2 separate regions of the Homo sapiens genome follow, and region 1 is linked to region 2. Evidence: promoter capture Hi-C in human tissues and cell types (Jung and others, 2019). All regions are on one chromosome and are shown on one strand. The core of a region is centred on a gene start or on the middle of the fragment in contact, and the rest is flanking DNA. Distances in the headings are between cores, read along the strand shown.

Region 1 (3,536 bases), core at 888-3,387, 50 kb before region 2:
CTTTGCTTGGTTCAAGTCAATTTATTTTTGAGAATCTTTCCCGATGTCCCCATGAAGACCCTCACTGGATCACACATCATTTGTCAAATGCTCTGGCCTTTCTCCTAGATGTTTAACTTTGCAAGGTCAGGAACTGATGCTTATTTACTCATTATATCCTCAGTTCCTGGCACACAGTAGGTGCTCAATAAATGTTTGTAACATAATCTAAAAAATGAGTGTTTCAGAATGTATGATACCAGTGGTTCCTGATAATACTGATGATGATGATGATAATAATAATAACAATAATAAAAGTGGAAAGCTAAGGTGGATGTTACCATTCTCATTTTATAGTTGAGGAAATGGAGGCTCACAAAAATGGAATGCACCAGTGCAAGGACCTTCTAGTTTTGGAAACTCACAGAACCAGCCCCACCTCCTCTCCTCTGTGCATATCAAACTGGGAGGCCATGCAACCTGGTGGTGGAGGTCATCAGCCCCTTCTTGGTGCAGGCACATTGCAGCTTAGGAAGCTTCTCCACTTATAGCTGCCCTTTCCCAACTCATTGTCCCAGTCTGAGCCCCGAGTCTCACGTGGACTATTGTAGCAGCCTCCTACAAAGATTTCTATAATAGGTCTCCCTGCTGGAGTCTGCCCTCTGTGCACTGCGGGGAGTCAGAAACCCCAGCTGCTCTCATGTTCCTAATCTTAACAGCCCTCAATGGCTGCTTTTTGCCAGTGAAATGAAGTCCCAGGCTCCTTCGGGCTGACATCGAACACCCTGCACAATTGGCCCCCAGCCCCCATGAACCTTCCCGACCTCTTGTCCAGCTTCCATTTTTACTCTTGTATTTGCCCCACCCTCCAGCCTAACCAATCCAATCCTTGTTTGTACCATCCCCCACCAACTTCCCAGCCCCATGTTTTTTCTTGTGCTGGTCGTTTTGCCTAGAATGCTTTTCTTTCTTATTTCATTGTGGGAAATGCCTCTTCACTCTTCAGGGCCCAGCCCAGACACCCTCCTCCTCCAGGAAGCCTGCCTTGATTTTCCCCAGCTAGAAGTGATCTTTCAATTCACAGAGCACTTTCTCTGGTCTTTTTGAGCATATGCCTCCCCAAACTTCTGTTTGAGCTCTGTGTGCCCTTGCTTGTTACCCCAAAACCCTACCACAAAGGAGGCCCCCAGAAGGTGTGTCCAGGCAGCTAGCAGAAAGTGGGCATTGTAAAATGGATATTTGCCTGATTAATTCATTCATTAATGAAGGATGAATGAGTGAATGAAAGACCATGAAGTTGCAAAAGTTCAGGCTTTAAAGCCATACAGACCTGGGTTTGAATCTACTTCTGGCACTCACCAGCTGTGTGGCTTTGGACAAGTCTCTTTACCCCTCTGAGCCTCAATCTTCTGGGTAACTTTTCAGGGCTATTCAGAGGATTGGGCATAATACAATAGAGTGACCAGCACATAGTAGGTGCTCAACAGATTGATGTGTTTTTTTGAATGAATGGATGAATATGGAGGGTGTTTGAAAGATCATGGATTTTGACACCAGCTGGATCTGGTTTGAACCTACCTCAAACCAGGTATTTTGATTGTATTTTGTGATTGTGATGACTTTAGGAATGATTTTTTACCTGTATGACCCTCAGTTTCCTCCTTGGTAAAATGAGAGTAACTAACAGTCCTTAGAGGCAGGGTTATGATAGGGATAGAGATACTTCATTTACAGTGTCAAGCTCATAAAAATGAGTAATACTGCCATGATGATGATGGTGGTGGTGATGATGAGGATGATGGTGATGATGGTGGTCATTGTGGTGATTATGATGGTGATGATAGTGGTAGTAATGGTGATAATGGTGGTGATGATAATGATGATGGTTGTGATAATGGTGATGGTGATGATAGTGATGATGATGATGACTGTAATAGTGGGGATAGTGGTGATGATGGTGGTGATAGTCGTAATGATAATAATGATGGGGATGATAATAATGGTGATGGTGATGATGGTGGTAGTGATAGTGATTGTGGTGGTAATGGTGATAATGGTGGTGGTGATAATGATGATGGTTGTGATAATGGTGGTGGTGATAATAGTGATGCTGATGTTGATGGTGATGGTGGGGATAGTGCTGATGATGGTGGTGATGGCTGAAATGATAATGATGATGGGGATGATAATAATGGTGATAGTGATGATCATGATAGTGTTGGTAGTGGTGATAATGGTGATGATGATGGTGGTGGTAGTGATCATGATAATGATTGTGATGATGGTGGTGGTGATGATGGTGGTGGAAGAGGAGGATTAGGGAGGGCTTGACCAGTCTTGGCACAAATTTCCATGCCCCAGCCAGCATTCTTCTGGGCTGCCCTCCAAGCTGGTGACTAGTGTCCCTTAGTTCCCCTGGGGTTTCACTGTAATGTCCTCCTACTAGCTAGCAGCTATCCTTCCATCATCTGCTCTTCTTCCTCTCTCCCCATCAGGTACTTTAATGAGGGGCCAGCACCATCCATAGCCAGGCTGGGCCCCATGTAGGGTGATGACTGAAAATGGAGCCAGGGCAGGTCTAGTGAGAGCTGCCAGTGCAGGCTCAGTGATCAAGGTAGATCATGGAGTCAGGTGAGCCTAGGGGTCTCAGTCCTGAGCCCTGCAGGGGTCTCAGTTGTGTAACAGCATCAGCACCACATGGGCATCACTTACAACAGTTATTCCTTCGTGTGATCTTGCCTAGGGGGAGTGAAGAGGGGCTTTTCTTCTGTAGAGGCTGAATCTGCCTCCCTGAAGCTCCTCCAGGTTAATGCTGGCTCTGACTTCTGGACCCACACAGAATATGGGTGTTGTCTATTCCCTAGGATTCTAAACCTCATAAAACAACAACAGCAACTGAAATGATATCTTAGCTTGGGTTCCCCTGGAAGCAAAGCTGGAGACAAGGATTTGTTAATATGGGAAATGAGTTTATATATGTATATGTGTATATATATATAAGTTTATATGGGAAATGAGGGAAACAGAAGGGGAACAGGGAAGTGAGACAAGGAAGGGAAGAAGCCTAAAATGCATCCATTATTAAACCAGTCATCACTGTGGGTGGCTGGAGCCCAATCCCACTGGGAGGCTCTGGGAAACTGTGTGGAAAACATGCCTCAGAGTTATCTTACCTGAGGAGTTGGGGAGCTTTGGTATTTGATCATTGAGGATGTTGCTAGGAGGCACCGATGCCCCAGCACTTCAGGCCAACCTTGGACCTGAGAAAGCCCTCAGGTGCTGACAACAGAATTGGGCCAATGTGCCCTGAAGTGGTGAGGGCAAGGGGATATGGGTGGGCTCCAGAGGGTCTGTAACTCATGTATTGACTCATGGATTTTTCAGTTAAGTCCTAATGATCCCTGAGAAGGTTCATTTTGTGTGTCAATTTGGCTGGACTAAAAGATGCTGATAATCTGGTTAAACATTATTTCTGGGTGTGCCTGTGAGGATGTTTCTGGAAGAGATTAGTGTTTAAATAGGTGAACTGAATAAAGCACATTGCCCTTCCGGAGGTG
Region 2 (3,675 bases), core at 1,033-3,532:
GCATCAGAATCCCCTGGAGGGCTTCTTAAAACCCAGATGGCTTCCTGGAGTCTCTGATTGCCAAGGTCTGCAGTGAGGCCCAAGGGTTTGTGTTTCTAACAAACTTCTGGGTGAGGCTGCTGGGGTTGGTATGGAAACTAGACTTTAGGAACCTCTGGTCTCTATTAGATGGTGATATACAAGATCCCTGCCACGTTATGGAAATATCCTCTCCTTTCACCAGGAGAACCTGGGGAATGACATGATTTGGCTTTGTGTCCCGACCCAAATCTCATCTTGAATTGGAATTCCATAATCCTCACGAGTCATGGGAGGGACCAGGTGGGAGGTAATTGAACATGGGGGTGGTTTTCCCCCCATCCTGTTCTCATGATAGTGAGTGAGTTCTCATGAAATCTGATGGTTTTATAAGAGGCTTCCCCCTTTGCCTGGCACTCATTGTCTCTCCTGCCACCCTGTGAAGAGGTACCTTCCATCATGATTGTAAGTTTCCTGAGGCCTCCCCTGCTATGCGAAAATGTGAGTCAATTAAACCTTTTTTCTTTATAAATTACCCAGTCTTGGGTATTTCTTCACAGCAGTGTGAGAACGGACCAATACAATTACTAACTTCTGGGTGACCTTGGGTGAGTCCCTTGCCTCCTCTGGGTTCAGTGTTCTCATCTGTACAGTAAGTGTTTCGATATGATGTTTTGTTCCCTAGATAAGCCCAAAGAAGAAGAGAGCAAGGAAGACAGTTGGGTAGACTGGGCCTGACTTCTGACTATAGAGACCTGTGTGACCTCAGGCAAGAGACTCAATCTCTCTGGGCTTCAAGTTATCTGTGAAATGGAAGAATGAAATTAGATGGTTTCTAAGTGTAAAGCTCACTGAATTAAAGGATTGAGGATGGTGGGGAGAGGTCGGTGGGGTTCTAAGGCTGATCAGACGATGAGGACATAGTCCTCCACCTGCCCAAGACTTTGAGGCCCAAAACACAGGTTTCTCTCCTTCTCTCCCTCCCTCCCCATCTCCCTCTCCCTTCACCTTCCCCTCCTCCCCATTACCTTCCTCCCTGCCCTCCCTTTTCTTCCTTTCTTTCTTCTCCTCCCTTCCCCTCTCTTCCCCTCCCCTGCCCTTCCCTTTTCTTTTTCTTTCTAAAAATATTATTTTAGGCAGTCGTAGGCAGTCTTGGCTTTGGAATCAGACAGACTCAGATCCAGCCATGGCTCGGTCAGCATGAGCTTGGCGCCCTGGGCAAAACGACTTCTGCTCTGTGGCCCTAGCATCCTCATGTGTAGAATGGGCAAGTGATGCCCCCCCGACGTGGGTGGTGGTTCACACGGCTTACTCCATGGAAGCACTTGGCACAGGGGCCCACATGGGCACTTCTGTTATTTCTTCAGTCTGGAGGCCAAGGGTGGGCCTCCGAGCCAGACAACATAGTTGGAATCCCAGCTCTGTCAGCTGCTGGCGGTGTGGTCTTGAGCAAGTGACTTAATCTCTCTGTACCCCAGTTTCCTTATTGGTAAGACTGGAGTAGTAATAATTCCTGTTATCTAGGGTTGCCGTGAAGAGTAAGTACGCATCGCCTAGCACGCTGCCTGGCTGTCGGTTGTTTTGATTATTCCACTAATGATGGTGACCACACAGCCGATGAACCAGGCACTTAGCGCCTGGTTAGGGCAGGGAACAGAATACAGTTCTTTCCCTACAGAGTTCCTGGTGCAAGGAGTTCTCGGTGCAAGGAGAGAGACATCTTAACAGGCAAGGACAGCACTGCATCAGTGAGGTGATGGGGTGACCCTGAGGGGCACAGCAGCCCCCGAGGGTTGGGGAAGGCTTCCCTGGGAGGTGACCTTCAACCTGAGACCTGAAGAGGCAGTAGGAGACCATCGGGCCACGAATTAGGGCAGGAATAGCATCCAGGTGGGAGGAACAGCGTTGCAAAGGCCCAGGGTGAGAGGCAGCCAATCTCTCGGTCAGTGTGGAGCTTGAGCCCCTCACCGGGAGCAGAGGCGCTTGCACTTCCCCCAGCAGCCGGGTGCTCAGATGTGCTCCCTGTTTGCGCTCAGTGGGCACGGCTCCCCGGCTGCAAGAGGCTGCCAGAGGGGCGGGTCGTCCCCAGCGGGCCCCCGCCGCCACCCACAAGCCCAGTCCCCGGCTGGTAGGGGCACCCTCCCCTCGCAGCCCCCTCTCCACGCAGCTAGCCGCCCCCGCCCTAGGTCAGCCCAGTTTCCTGCCCCTCCCTCCTGCTCTCCTCCCTCCAGCTGTTTCTCTGGCTGAGTTCTGTCCCAGTCCCATTCAGGGAAGCAGCCCCGGCGGCCAGCAGGGAGCTCAGGACAGAGCAGGCTCCCTGGGAAGCCTCCGGGTGATAGGGGTGTTCCAGCTGCGGCGCTCTGGGGGTTCAGAGGGGGATCTTGAATGAACAAATGAATGAACTGCTTTCTGGGCAAACAGCCACAGCCAGAGGAGCCTGTGATTGGCAGAAAGAAGCCAGGGTGTGCAAGTCTCCCCAACAGCCTCGAGTGGCCTGCAGTCACAGGGAACCCTCAGGAAGACCTTCCGGGCAGAGACCAGAGGGAAGGTATCATCACACACTTGCCTTGGGTGTCTTCTGAGGGGGGCCAGGGAAGGGGAATGAATACTAACAGAGAGAAAAGTTTGTTTCTTTTTATAATTTCATATTTGTTAAAAGGAAGAGTTTTGTTATTATTTTCAGATGTCAAAAGTAATGCATGTTCATTGTTTAAAGAAATAGCAAGGATACACAACTAAATATATGAATGTGGATTTCCACATCTAGTTTGGTAACCTGCTTAACCACAGATTGTGAACTTTTTTCCATATCACCTATATTCTTCCAATATACATTTTTCATGGCTGCATAGAAAGGCTATCTTAAGATTATTTGACTTTTCCATAATAGATTTGCTTCTTTTTTTTTATTAGAACAGTGCTGCAATGAATATTTAGTATGACATCTTTGTGTGTGTGTCTTATGAATACCTTTTAGAAATTGCTAGATTTAAGGTTTGCCTATTTTTAAGACTTCTGAGCTTTTGGTCACACTGCACCCTGGAAGGCCGTGGCAGCTTGACCTCTCTACGATGTTATACCAGGGCACAGTATTCTCACATACTAAACCCACCTTGTTGCTACCCATCCCTTAAACTTTCCCTGATGTGAAGTCGAGAATAATATCTAGATGCTTCAATAGGCATTTCATTTCTTTGTTAGTGTTGATTCTCTTTTATAAACTTATTTTTCACATTTCTAGTCTGACTCTCCTGTTCAAGTCTGTTCCCATTTTTTTCTCCTCTGGGGGCATGTTTATCTTTTTCCAATTGATATCTAAGGGTTCTTTGTATATAAAGGACACAAAACCTTTGCCGGCACTCTCTGTTGAAAATATTCCACTCCCTCCTCTGTCTTCAGAATAGCCCATTTTAAATGGGCAAGCCAGCTTTGGCAAAATTATAAGCATTACAACATCAGGGAACTACTACTTGATATAAGCCCAATCACTCAGACCTGTGCGGTTCAGAGATGCCAGATCACTGGTCTGAGGTCACACGCCTGAACGTCCAGGTTCTGAGTCTTTCTTTTTCTATTAGGGAAAGCCCTCAACTTCCCTTTTGCATCCCCTACCTCCTTCTCAAGACCAATCTTCTCTGTGGTTCTTGCTGTATCTCC

The links. Contacts are between HindIII fragments. The study calls those that stand out against the background at their distance.
Region 1: a fragment that was not itself captured here is called in contact with the fragment with the promoter of CMKLR1 in region 2 in 1 of the 25 tissues and cell types used here (pancreas).

What each region holds. Positions count from the first base shown.
Region 1 is chr12:108,388,160-108,391,695 of GRCh38, reverse strand. No RefSeq gene overlaps it. Among named protein-coding and RNA genes, the nearest start is that of CMKLR1, 51 kb to the right of the region's middle. RefSeq lists an enhancer at 650-944. The HindIII fragment of the contact is 3,825 bases long and covers 225-3,536 here.
Region 2 is chr12:108,337,918-108,341,592 of GRCh38, reverse strand. CMKLR1 (chemerin chemokine-like receptor 1) reads left to right here and starts at 2,282. Exons shown (of 4, transcript NM_001142343.2): 1 at 2,282-2,566. RefSeq lists a silencer at 1,999-2,118 and an enhancer at 2,226-2,849. The HindIII fragment of the contact is 8,294 bases long and covers 1-3,675 here.